Regions from separate parts of the Homo sapiens genome. Here region 2 is linked to region 1. The links are contacts of gene promoters, found by promoter capture Hi-C in blood cells and fetal thymus (Javierre and others, 2016). All regions are on one chromosome and are shown on one strand. Each heading gives the region's core, a stretch centred on a gene start or on the middle of the fragment in contact. The rest is flanking DNA. Distances are from core to core; before and after follow the strand shown.

Region 1 (6,653 bases), core at 2,470-4,969:
CGTCCCTCAGCCAGCTGTTTCAGCAGCAGCTCCTGGTGCTGGCCTGCAGATGAGAGAGAATGTAAGGGGGCTGTTCCCCAACTTCTTTCCTTCTCCCTCCCTGCCTGTGACCAGCCTGCTGCCAAAAACTGAGACAGAAACATTCTGGCTCAGCCATTGGGACGCTTCCAAGCTGACTGAAGAGATTAAACTCACACCATGAGAGACAAAGAGTGCAACAAAATACTTGGCCACACTTCTCAGTAGCTCAGGCAGTTGGAGCCATGGCCACTTAATGGGAGAGCAAGAAGACTTTCCAGGCCAGGCGCAGTGGCTCACACCTGTAATCCCAGCACTTTGGGAGGCCAAGGCAGGCGGATCATCTGAGGTCAGGAGTTCGAGACCAGCTCGGCCAACATGGTGAAACCCCATTTCTACTAAAAATACTAAAAATATGAAAAAAAGTGGCTGGGCATGGTGGCGGGCACCTGTAATCCCAGCTACTCAGGAGGCTGAGGCAGGAGAATCGCTTGGACTCGGGAGGCAGAGGTTGCAGTGAGCCAAGATTGCGCCATTGCAACACAGCCTTGGCAACAGGCAACAGAGCGAGGCTGGGCAACAGAGCAAGACTCCATCTCAAAAAGAATAAAAATAAATAAAAATAAATAAAAGAAGAAGATGACTTTCCAGAAAAGGGGACAAGGAAACGCATATTCGCCCCCAACCACCTTTTACTTACTCAACTGGTACTGCAGCAACTTCAATTCCTTCTGCATAATCTCTGACTCCTCCCACAGCACTGCAGGAGTGACAGCAGTGCTATTCTAAAGTCAATCAACAAATCCAGAGTAAGAAGGCAAGTAGAGTATCTAGGGTCTTGTGAAACTCTTAGAGAGGATGATCCCCAACTTGTCCCACTACAAATGCCAAAAGTTCAAAGGCCTCAAGAAGGCAAGGCCGCACTCAGTGCTCAATGGCGCCCAGGCTGGAGTGCAGTGGCGTGATCTCGGCTCGCTACAACCTCCACCTCCCAGCCGCCTGCCTTGGCCTCCCAAAGTGCCGAGACTGCAGCCTCTGCCCGGCCGCCACCCCGTCTGGGAAGTGAGGAGCGTCTCCGCCCGGCAGCCACCCCGTCCGGGAGGGAGGTGGAGGGGGTCAGCCCCCCGCCAGGCCAGCCGCCCCGTCTGGGAGGGAGGTGGGGGTGTCAGCCCCCCGCCCGGCCAGCCACCCCATCCGGGAGGTGAGGGGTGCCTCTGCCCGGCCACCCCTACTGGGAAGTGAGGAGCCCCTCTGCCCGGCCACCACCCCGTCTGGGAGGTGTGCCCAACAGCTCATTGAGAACGGGCCAGGATGACAATGGCGGCTTTGTGGAATAGAAAGGGGGGAAAGGTGGGGAAAAGATTGAGAAATCGGATGGTTGCCGTGTCTGTGTAGAAAGAAGTAGACATGGGAGACTTTTCATTTTGTTCTGTACTAAGAAAAATTCTTCTGCCTTGGGATCCTGTTGATCTGTGACCTTACCCCCAACCCTGTGCTCTCTGAAACATGTGCTGTGTCCACTCAGAGTTAAATGGATTAAGGGCGGTGCAAGATGTGCTTTGTTAAACAGATGCTTGAAGGCAGTATGCTCATTAAGAGTCATCACCACTCCCTAATCTCAAGTACCCAGGGACACAAACACTGCCGAAGGCCGCAGGGTCCTCTGCCTAGGAAAACCAGAGACCTTTGTTCACTTGTTTATCTGCTGACCTTCCCTCCACTATTGTCCTATGACCCTGCCAAATCCCCCTCTGTGAGAAACACCCAAGAATGATCAATAAAAGAAAAACAAACCCAAAAAAAAAAAAAAAAAAAAAGAAGGCAAGGTCTTGACTATCCCTTACTCAGTCTGCAGCTCCTGAGGAAGGCCATTGGTAGTACTGCATTCTCCTGGTCCTGTTTGCATCTGGGCTTGGGCTTGGGCTTGGGTTTGCTCCCACACCTGGCTCTGAAGGCCCTGCAGTTCCTTTCTCAGCTCCTCCAGGCATTGCTCCAGGAGAAAAGCACTCCCCTTTGGGGCCCCCTGCAGCAACCTTAGTGATGCTGTAGTGGGACAAGTTAGGGATCATCCTCTCTAAGAGTTTCACAAGACCCTAGATACTCTACTTGCAAAACAAGACACATGTGCACACACAACAGGTGTGTGGCAAAATTGTGTGCATACATATGAAGCTGTGTATATGAAGAAAATAACTGGCCAGATACCTTCCAGGACACTGATCTGGTACTTCTGCTGCTCTCGCTCTTCTAGCAGGCCCTGCACTGCCTGCCTTAGTGCCTGTCACCTCCCCAGGCAGAAAAAAGCACATGAACTACTGTATAACAGCTTTTCCCGACCCCTAGTATCCTCATCTTACACAAACATCACATATACACACCAAGGATTCCAAGCCTCACCTGAGCCTGACATTGAAATTAGGATCAGAGAATAGCAACCTCACCCCAGAGAGAGGATGGGCTCTAGGACTCAGGGCAGCTCAGCCTTTGTGGAACTATGGGAGTCTCTAAAGCCCAAGGCTGTTGAGCTTGGACTCCTGACTGCAGAGGCAAGTGATGAGAGGAAATCCAGGTCCCAGCCAGGTCCCCGGCTGAGGAAATAAGGAAGGGTTAAGTGCAGGGTCTGTGTGGGGAAACAGAGTTCAGGAAAGGACAGAGTTGGAATTTGGAAGGAATAATGGATGATACGGGCACTGGAGGAAGGCACAGAAAGAGAAAGGGCTTGGAAGTAGAAAGAGACATTACTTACCTGCGGTGGAGACCCCAAGAAGATACAGCCACTGCTACAGAAGAAACAGATGCACAGGCCAATGAGCTCTGTGGAGACCCCAAGAGGATACAGCCACTGCTACAAAAGAAACAGATGCACAGGCCAATGAACTCTGAGAGTCCCTTAGCCTCCCCACGCAAACTGGGGACCTCCACCAACCCCTCACCTTATTCCGGACCACATTTCCATCAGTAGCGTTGAGAAGCACATCCAGCTGCTCAAACCAGCTGAGGCTCGTATTCATATCCTGTGGCAGGGGAGCGGCAGGGGTCTGGCTCCCTGGTGTCTTGTGCTTGCTCTCCTAGCGGGGGATACCCAAGGTATCCCCAGGAAAGGCCACCACGTTAGATGGAAAGAGGGAAGTGGGGATGCAACACTGGGGTAGGTGGATGCACTATCAGACCAAAACTGCGATCCTGTGACTAGGGAAAGGAAGGACGCTCTTGGGGAACTGGGGGAAAAGCGGGATACCGTGATGATACGCAGATATCAGGTGGGGATTGAAGGTGCCAGAACCTGGTTGAGACCTCCCCAGAAGTAGTACACTGGCGCCACCACGCCAAACCTGTGCCAGTGACAACTGCCGCCGCCGGGTTCAAAACTTCGGGTTGGTTTTGAAAGTCCGACTTTGGACTGGCTGCCGCAGCGCCACCTGGGAAACTGAGGTCGCCTCTTGCGAACACAACCGGCGATGGAGGCGGTGGAACTACCTTTCTCTAGAAGAGACACGTACATGCACACCCCCACCGTGTAGCTTGCCGGGAAACTGAGTCTTCCTGATTTCGTGTGGCTGTCTCCAAGGAGGAAACGAACTACGCATCCCAAGATGCATCGCGCATAGGCAATATGGTCCCGCTACTGGACCCATTTCCTACCTGGGAAATGGAGTCGAAGCTGACTCAAAACGTAACGGCCCAATTGTCCTTGAGACTTCATTCCCCAGCAAGCTCAGCGTGTAACGTGCGCTATGGAGCCGAAAGTCGCAGAGCTGAAGCAGAAGATCGAGGACACGCTATGTCCTTTTGGCTTCGAGGTTTACCCCTTCCAGGTTAGTTTATCCCTCCTGCTGTTCTAGGGCGAAATATATGATTGGCTTCGTTGCAACTGGCGTGAGGCCTCGGGAGCCTCTGATCCTCCTGGGTTCCTGCAGCCCAGTGTCCATGTGACAACAGGGACAGAGTTTCAGTGGGGGCTTGGGTTAAAAAGGTAGTGGTCGAGGCCGGGCATGGTGGCTCACGCCTGTAATCCCAGCACTTTGGGAGGCCGAGGCGGGCGGATCACCTGAGGTGAGGAGTTCGAGACCAGCCTGGCCAACATGGTGAAACCCCATCTCTACTAAAAATATAAAATTAGCCGGGCGTGGTGGTGCATGCCTGTAATCCCAGCTACTCGGGAGGCTGAGGCAGGACAATTGCTTGAACCCATGAGACGGAGGTTGCAGTGAGCCGAGATTGCGCCATTGCAGTCCAGCCTGAGCAACAAAGAGCGAAACTCCGTGTCAAAAAAAAAAAAAAAAAAAAAAGTTGTCGCATGTTTAACCTTTTGCCACCATATAATGCCGGATTCGTTAACGGGAGACACCATATGACCTGTAGCGTGTGTGGCTCAGATTGTCACCTATATAATTTACAAGAAGAAAGGGACCTGTGAGGCAAAGTCACCTTGGAACTTCCTAAAGGATTTAGGAGAGGGCAAAGCCTAGAAGGTTTGCATAGCTATCATTTAGGTCAGCTGAGGAAGGAAGGGCATTCCTGGTGATGAACAGGCAAACAATTGGCTGGTTTGTTCCCTCTACCAACAGAAGGATAATTCATGATATTTCCAGTCATCAGTGCTGGGCTGGGTAATGAAACTTTGTACACTTGCCTGGCACAGCAGTCTCAGCACCGCACCCCGACCCCCATTTACACGGTTACATTTCCCCACATCAGTGCCCTGTGCACTGAGCAGTTAAGTTACAAAGCTAAATCAGCTCAGCTTGAGCCCTTTGCCTGATGCTTAAGAGACTACCCACTTCCCATTCCTTCTGCTGAGTGGCTCACAGCAGTCCTGGGAGAGGATATAGAGGGAGAAGTAGGTTGGGTCTAGCTTGAGACTGGTCTTGCCAGAAAAAATGGAATTGAGCTATATATGAAAAGATAGATTGGAAGGAAGGAGGGTTATGTACATCCCAAATATCAGAAAAAGCTTGAGTAAAGGTGTGGAGATAGTGGTGTGGTGTTACCAAGTAAAAGGGCTTGATGCCTGATGTGCTGGAAGCTAATATTATGACACTGGGTTTTTGAGAAAACAAAAGCTATTTGTTGCAGATCGACCTTTAACTCTTTGAGACACCGTTTCAGTGGATGGCAGGTGTGTGGGAGAGTGAGAATGCCTATCTGGCAAGTTGAGTAGACCTGGGTATTAGGAGCTTTTGTACTGAACAAAGCCAACTGCAGCCCTGCCAGTCACCCTAGGCTCCTACCTCTCACCTCCCTACCCCCACATCCAATCAGCCACCAAGACCTATAAGACTGTCTACTGAATCTCCCAAATCCATTCCCTTGTATTCCACCCATCTATGCTGTGGTCCAGGCCACCATTTCTCACTTGGATTACTGTAATAACCTCCTTGCTGTAATTTTACCTCCAGTCCCTCCTCCACACTGCAGCCAGTGTGATCTAAAAATGATCATGCTAGTTTACTCCTTAAATCTTCAGTGGCTCTTCACTGTCACCAAATTAAATCCATATTCCTTAAATTGGTATTCAAAGCCAATCAAAATCTCACTCCTATTGATCTCTCCAGCCTTCTCTCCCTCTGATTCCCTCTACAGACCCTTCACTTCCACCAAACTAGACAATTCTCAAATATACCCAGGAATTTTCTGCCAGTGTGTTTGCTTATGCTGTGACTTGTTTATTTTATTCTTTATTTATTTAGAGACAAAGTCTCACTCTGTCCTCCCGGCCGGAGTGCAGTGGTGCAATCATAGCTCACTGCAGCCTCAAACTCCTGGGCTCAAGTGATCCTCCCACTTTAGTCTCCCAAGTAGCTGACTCCAGGCATGCACCAACACTCAGGGTCTCACTTTGTTGCCCTGGCTGGTCTTGAACTCCTGGCCTCAAGTGATCCTCCTGCTTCGGCCAGCCACCCAAAGCACTGGGATTACAGGCATGAGTCACCGCACTCAGTCTGTGACCTCTTTTTAAAATACACACCAGTGAGTTTATGTGTTTTTTGGTGAAATATAAATAATAAATAAATGCACACCAGATTCTCCTCCCTACATCAACCTGACAGTTGACCAGTTGACTTTCTAGCCTTCAAGACTTAGCATCCAAGGAAGCCTTTTCTTTTCTTTTTTTTTTTTTTTGAGATGGAGTTTCGCTCTTGTTGCCCAGGCTGGAGTGCAATGGTGCGATCTCAGCTCACCACAACCTCTGCCTCCCGGGTTCAAGTGATTCTCCTGCCTCAGCCTCCAGAGTAGGTAGGATTACAGGCATGTGCCAACATACCCGGCTAATTTTGTATTTTTTTTAGTAGAGACAGTTTCTCCATGTTGGTCAGGCTGGTCTTGAACTCCCGACCTCAGGTGATCTGCCTGCGTTGGCCTCCCAAAGTGCTGGAATTACAGGCATGAGCCACCATGCCCGGCCACAAGGAAGCCTTTTCTAATTTCAGAGGACCCTTATCTGACCCTGTCATTGCACTAGCTATAGTACAGTCATTTCTATTGTTCTTAGTGGTTCTGCCTATTAGAACTTTCTGCAGCCAGGCGTGGTGGTTCTCACCTATATCCCAGCACTTTGGGAGGCCAAGGTGGGTAAATTACTGGAGGTCAGGGGTTCAAGACCAGCCTGGCTAACATGGTGAAATCCCGTCTCT
Region 2 (6,653 bases), core at 2,120-4,619, 89 kb before region 1:
AGCTGGACATAGGATTCTAAGTAGGAAATCATTTTCTCTCAGAAAGCATCTTCCATTGCTCTAGCTTTTTTGTATGGGATTTTTTTTTAAATTTTTTCCTCTGTGGAAATGTTTAGAATATTTTTATTACCCATATTCTAAAATTTCATAATGATATGCTCTGGGTGGCTGTTTTTTCATTCATTGTGCTGGGCCCTTTCAATCTGGAAGCACATGTCCTTTGGTTCTCCCCTCCAGGTATTAGCCAGGCCCGGCACAATGGGTTAGTCTGCATACTGAATGGTGAGAACTCAAAGAGCATGAGCCTATGGCTCATATAAAAAATGTTTTAATTTTATTATATTGCCAAAGCCAAATACTTCTGAGAAAGGTTGTCATTTTTAAAAAACTGTCTTCCTTTATTTGGGTCTATTCATTTTCTCCAGGAAAAAATCCATCAATTTCCTGGCAAGTGGCAGGGTTGAGGGTAGGATAGGAATGATTCTTGCCTGCCTGAGAGCCAGGTGATGGAAGGTGACTAGAAGTCTTATGAGCCTCACCATTCCAGTATGCAGACTATCCCCCCATCTCCTCTTTTAGGTATTGCATTCTATCAGATGTTCACTAGTATGAAGTATTTCTGGTTCAATTTTTCTCCAAAAATAAACCATGTCTTATTGGGGTGGGTGATATTTAACTGATTAGTTACAAGAAATGGGGATGTTGACTTTCAGGCCCAGTTACCCCTTAAAAGACTTTGAATAGCCCTCTTATTTTTAGCCCAAGCCTGACACCCACCTTCAGTTCCTGAGCTTTTATAAGTTTCTGTGATGCAAACTGGCTTGGTTCTAATTGGCATCAGCTTCTAGAGATACTACACTATAGGCACTACAAATACAGTGGTGAAAAAGATAAACTTCTACCCTCAGAGAGCTCATTCAATACTGGAGGCTTTAAGCAATAGGTAAACAAATGAATAAGGTTCTTTTCAGAAGTAATGAGAACTTGTAACAAATATCGATGTCTATTTTAGACTAGTCAAAAAGATTTCTTTGAAGAGGGGCTATCTCAGCAGAAATATATCATATGATTCTGGAATAAAGTAAGTACAAAGGCCCTGAAGCAGGGAAAAAAGCTTAATGTGTCTGAGAAACAAGAGGGTTAGTGAGTGTGGTTAGAATGATGTAAGAAAAAGGAAGAATGATTGGAAATATGGTCAGAGCCACGTAGGCCAAATCATTTAGGGCCTGATAGGTTAAAGCCCAGAGTATGAACTTTGAAGAATGACAAAAAGCTGTATTAGGAAATTCAGCAGGGAAATGACATAATCTGATTTACCCTCTTAAAATTCAATCTGGCTATTGTGGGGTAAAAGGGGAAGACAAGAGATCAATTAGGATGGTTGGGCTAGAGTAGTAAGTGTAGAGGTAAAAAGACTCAGGACATATTTTGAAGATAATGCTGAACTACTTGATGGTTTGAAATAGGGTGTAAGAGAAAGATAATAAGAATGGTAAGTTTTTGGCTCAAGTGATGGATGAATGGTGGGAGAGGTCTGGAAAGAAGAAAGGGAATGCGGCAGGAAATTAATAGTGGTCCATAATGGGTACTCAATAATTAGTAATCATTGTTTATATTAAAAATCTTCAGCCAAGACACAGTGGCTCACACCTGTAATACCAGCACTTTGGGAGGCCAACGGGGGCAGATCACTTGAGGCCAGGAGTTTGAGACCAGCCTGGCCAACATGGTGAAATCCTATCTCTACTAAAAATACAAAAATTAGCTGGGTGTGGTGACACATGCCTGTAATCCCAGCTACTCGGGAGGCTGAAGCACGAGAACCTGGGAGGCGGAGGTTGCAGTGAGCAGAGATCATGCCACTGTACTCCAGCCTGGGTGACAGAGTGAGACTCTGTCTCAAAAAAAAATTAAGATCACCTTACAGTCTAGTGTTACAAAAGATGCTTTGTGAACTCTCTTGAGAGTCTTTCACCTAGTTACCCACCAGGATTACAATGATAAAATCAGAGAGATCCACTTTATTATTTTTTTTTCAACCTTCAACAGATGCAAAAAAACATTTTAGGCTGGGAGCAGTGGCTCACGCCTGTAATCCCAGTACTTTGGGAGGCCGAGGCAAACGGATCACCTGAGGTTAGGAGTTCGAGGCCAGCCTGGCTAACATGGTGAAACCCTGTTTCTCCTAAAAATACAAAAAATTAGCTGGGCATGGTGGCGCGTGCCTGTAATCCCAGCTACTCGGGAGGCTGAGGCAGGAGAATCACTTGAACCTGAGAGGCAGAGGTTGTAGTAAGCTGAGATTGCACCATTGCACCCCAGCTTGGGCAACAAGAGCGAAACTCCAACTCAAAAAAAAAAAATTTTTTTTTAAAACACTGCCCATTTATTCTGGAACACACTCCACATCCACATTCACTCACCCTTAAGATATTTTAAAAACCTGATTATTTAAAAATTGTTCAACATTTAATTCAATGTGATTTCTTATTTATATATTTATTTATTTTATTTTTTATTTTTTTTTTAACATACATGGTCTCACTATATCACCCAGTCTGTGTTTCAGTGGCACAACTGAAACCACCTTTGCAAAAGAGAAATCTGACATCGTTAACTCTATCTTGCCTCCAACCTCAAGCTGTTTGTCTTTGGTCATTCCTGGGCATAGGCCAAGCTAACTTTGGGAGGAATTTAGTTTACAGTTTAACCTTAAAGCAAGGATGATAATAGCCCTTCCCAAAACTAAACTACCTTTGTAAAACTAAGGAAAGGCCACAAGGTTAGGATTATGGGAGGGGAGAGAATTCTGCTAAAATGTAGGTATAGTTCTACAATTTCTTACTGCTTGGGAGTCATGTGGCTAGAGATCACAAGATTTGTGACTTCTCCAACTGCTCCTATAGATAACATCACTATTATAGAACCTAAGACTGGTTTTCTGAGAGATTTTTTTCAGACCAACCCCACCCAGACTCATGACTCATGACTCAACTGGTCCTGTAGCCCAGCCTTCCCCAACCTTTTTGGCACCAGGGACTGGTTTTGTGGAAGACAATTTTTCCACAGACTCGGGTGAGGGTCAGGTGGAGGGATGGTTTTGGGATGAAACTGTTCCACCTGAGATCATCAGGCATTTGATTCTCATAAGGGACGTGCAACCAAGATCCCTCGCATGCACAGTTCACAACAGGGTTCACGCTTCTATGAAAATATAATGCCACCGCTGATCTGACAGGAAGCAGAGCTCAGGCAGCAATGCTTGCTCACCTGTTCACCTCCTGCTGTGTGGCCCAGTTCCTAACAGGCCACAGGCTGATACCGGTCCATAACCTGGGGGTTGAGGACTCCTGCTGTAGCCCTACACAGAGGCACACTCAGCGCACAAGGACTTTTCCACACCCCCAATTAATCAGCAGCACCCATTCCCTCAGCCCTGCCCACCAAATTGTCCATAAAAACTCTAACCTCTAGAGGGCTTCAGGAAGACTGATTTAAGTGATAACTGCCTCTTTGGCATGGCTGGCCTTGAGTCAATTAAACTCTTTCTTACTGCAATGCCACGATCTCAGGGAATTGATTTTGTCTGTGCAGCTGGCAGGAAGAAGCCATCATAGCTCACTACTCCTAGGCTCAAATGGATCCTCCCGCCTCAGTCTCCCAAGTGCTCAGATTATAGGTGTAAGCCACCATGCCCTGCCTCAGTGTGATTTCTAACAACTGATCTGGTCCATTCTCATTAAACAGAAGAAATCAAAGCACAGAGGTTAAATAACTTGTCCTAGAGAATATAATTAGGAAATTGTGGAGCTGTGTGAATTGTACAAGAGAAAGAGTGGAAGAAAAGGCTGGAAAAACAGACTGAACCTTAACTGTCAGTCTAAATAATTTTTGACTCGATTTTGAAACCAATGTGAGCCACAAAAAGTTTTAAGAAATAAACTATACAACCAGAGCTGAGTATCAGGAAGAGTGAAAAAGGGCAAAGAGACAGGGAAAATAATTCACTCCAGGTGAAAGTGAAGAAGGCTGAATTACAGCCCACATATACGGGAAGGAATAGATGCAAAAGCCTTTGAATATTTAGAATCACAGCTTAGCTTCTCATTAGAAGCAAGGAATACATGATAACCAAAAATGGCTGGAATTTTTCAGGATGGATAACTGGAAAGATGGCTGTCTTAATAACTGAGACTGGGAAAATATCCTGCCATATTCTCACAGCATTAGCTAATGCTAGTCTATTTCCTACATAGTATAATTTACTTCTTAAGGAGACTCTCTGGGAGACAAGAAGCCTCTATTTCTCTTGCATTAATCATGATATTACCTAGCACAGGGAGGGACTGAGTAGTTCCAAGCAAATATTTGTGAATTGAAGGCATAGTCTTCAATTTCATATTTGGTGAATTGAAGGCATATTTGGTGAATTGAAGGAGTCTAAAAGAAATATTAAATTTCTCATGGCATAAATAACAGAGAGACCCAGTGCAGTGGCTCAAGCCTATAATCCCAGCATTTTGGGAGGCCGAGGTGGGAGGATTGCTTGAGCTCAGGAGTTCGAGACCAGCCTGGGCAATATAGTGAGAACTTTCTCTACAAAAAAATTTTCAAAGTTAGCCAAGTGTGGCGGCATACGCCTGCAGTCCCAGCTACTCAGGAGGCTGAGGTGGGAGGATTGCTTGAGCCCAGAAGGCAGAGATTGCAGTGAGCCTGGGCAACAGAGTGAGGCCCTGTCTTGGGGTCGTGGGGAGGTATGAGAACAAATCTGAGTGTATAGTTCCTCAAAAAGGCCACTGGGGAGTGGAAGTGAGTGGGGCATAGAACTGGGTTACAGATCTTGAGCATAAGACTTCCTGGCGTAAACAACCTTATTCACAAGAGACCTAAACAATCAGTCCCTGCATTCAACAAAGTACTTTATTGTTCCTTTTTTTAACTGATAACTTTGAGCAACTGATGATAAAATAACCAATCTTCACTGGGCCCATGTATAAACAGAATACACACACATGAACAAAATTTACACAAGTACTACCTCTATGACTTACCAGGCCCACACTTTTCCTCCCAAATAGAAATCTTAGGAGGAAGGGAGATAAAGGGAAAAAGGGAAACTAGGAGGTTGGGGTCAAGAAAAAGAGAACTACAAAGGTTCAGCTCACTCACTCCTGCTGGGCACACAATAGCTCTGGCAGAAGAGAACCAAGGTATGCCCAGAGGATTAAATGCCTACCACCTGGCAGATCATGCAGATAGGCTTCTTTCCCAAGTAGCCTTTCCAAAGCACTAACAGAAGAATTTTCAACTCATTCTTTTTCTTTTTCTTTCTTTCTTTCTTTCCTTCATTTCTCTCTCTCTCTCTTTCTTTTAAGCAAGAGACCTTTTCTTCAAAACTCTTATACAGAAGTTCAATATAAAAAAGATAAAAAGTGCAACTGTTCTGACTAGATGAAGCCAAGAGAACAGAAGTCTCATCTACTCAGCCACCTCCCATACCCGGGGCCAGCACCTGAGAAGGCACATCTGTGTAATCCTAGGGTTCCAAGAGATGGATTCTTCCCAATGTAGATCTAATCTCAATTTGGGGAAAAATTCTGGTTCATACTTCTGCACCTATAAAAGAAAGCTTATAATGTTTACAGCTTGAAAATAGACTAAGAGCCATACTAACAAATAGTAACCAAAAAATTTAAATCCTAAGTATTAACAGCAAATTGCTAAGACAACCAGAAAGCATTTAGAAAATACAAATTCTAAGAACCTTGAGAATAAAACATAGTCATGCTTAGTTTGGCATTTAAGGAGTCACAGGGAAGTATAATAAATGTTTCCATTACATTAATACTCGTCTGGGTAACAAAAGCCAAAAGGACTTTGTTTGCTCTAGGCCACTGGTTAGAATAATTTCCTTTTGTTGTCTTCAAAATATATAGTGAAAGTGAAGACATAAAAACATAAATGATATAAATAATTAGAAGCTTCTTTTAAAAAGTAATCCATTTCAGGCTTTTAAACCACAGTATCTTTGAGACAGATGGCTTATGCAGAACAAAAATGGTCACCATCAGAGGGCAAACCCACGTGGCTAACAATAATTACATTCTCATGTATTATACTTGCAGTGTGACAGTTCCTGTGCCAGAGGCTTTATATATATCATCTCATTTGTGGGCTTATTGGGAAGATTTAGATAGACTGAATGCTACCTTTCATACATTAGAAAACTTGGCTGAGAGCAAAGAACATTACTTTTTTAAGTTAAGGGGGATGAGGGTGGAGGTGGGGATCATTCCTAAGCAATAGGATCAAAAGGAGATAAGCTAAGAAAGTACATCAAGGAGATATGGAATAGGAATGGTAATGTTGGTCTCATCACAACCCTACATGTTTCTAGGCTGGAATACATATACCCGTAGCAAAGCAAAGGCAAAGATGTAGGTAGCCCAGCATTATCAAATACAGTAGGCACTAGCTTCATGTGGCAATTTAAATTTAAAGCAATCCAAATAAAATTTTAATTTCTTGTTTGCATTAGCAATATTTCTGTGCTTATTAGCCACATGTGGCTACTGGACAGCAGAAATATAGAACATTTCCATCACTGCAGAAGGTTCTATTGGACAGCAATGCTTTAGTAGAAAACCGTTGAA

What was found. The method cuts DNA at HindIII sites, captures the fragments that hold promoters and counts their contacts. A CHiCAGO score of 5 or more calls a contact.
Region 2: a fragment that was not itself captured here is called in contact with the fragment with the promoter of MMACHC in region 1 in 1 of 17 cell types (naive B cells); the score reaches 5.1 in naive B cells.

What each region holds. Positions count from the first base shown.
Region 1 is chr1:45,496,581-45,503,233 of GRCh38, forward strand. It overlaps MMACHC (metabolism of cobalamin associated C), which reads left to right and starts at 3,720. Exons shown (of 4, transcript NM_015506.3): 1 at 3,720-3,833. The coding sequence starts at 3,753. It overlaps CCDC163 (CCDC163 homolog), which reads right to left and starts at 3,493. Exons shown (of 5, transcript NM_001102601.3): 1 at 2,952-3,493; 2 at 2,765-2,863; 3 at 719-803; 4 at 1-43. The coding sequence starts at 3,029. RefSeq lists enhancers at 3,433-3,965, 3,515-3,714. The HindIII fragment of the contact is 9,755 bases long and covers 1-4,970 here.
Region 2 is chr1:45,408,255-45,414,907 of GRCh38, forward strand. All of the region lies in intron 3 of TESK2 (testis associated actin remodelling kinase 2), which reads right to left. Among named protein-coding and RNA genes, the nearest start is that of TOE1, 71 kb to the left of the region's middle. The HindIII fragment of the contact is 4,515 bases long and covers 1,113-5,627 here.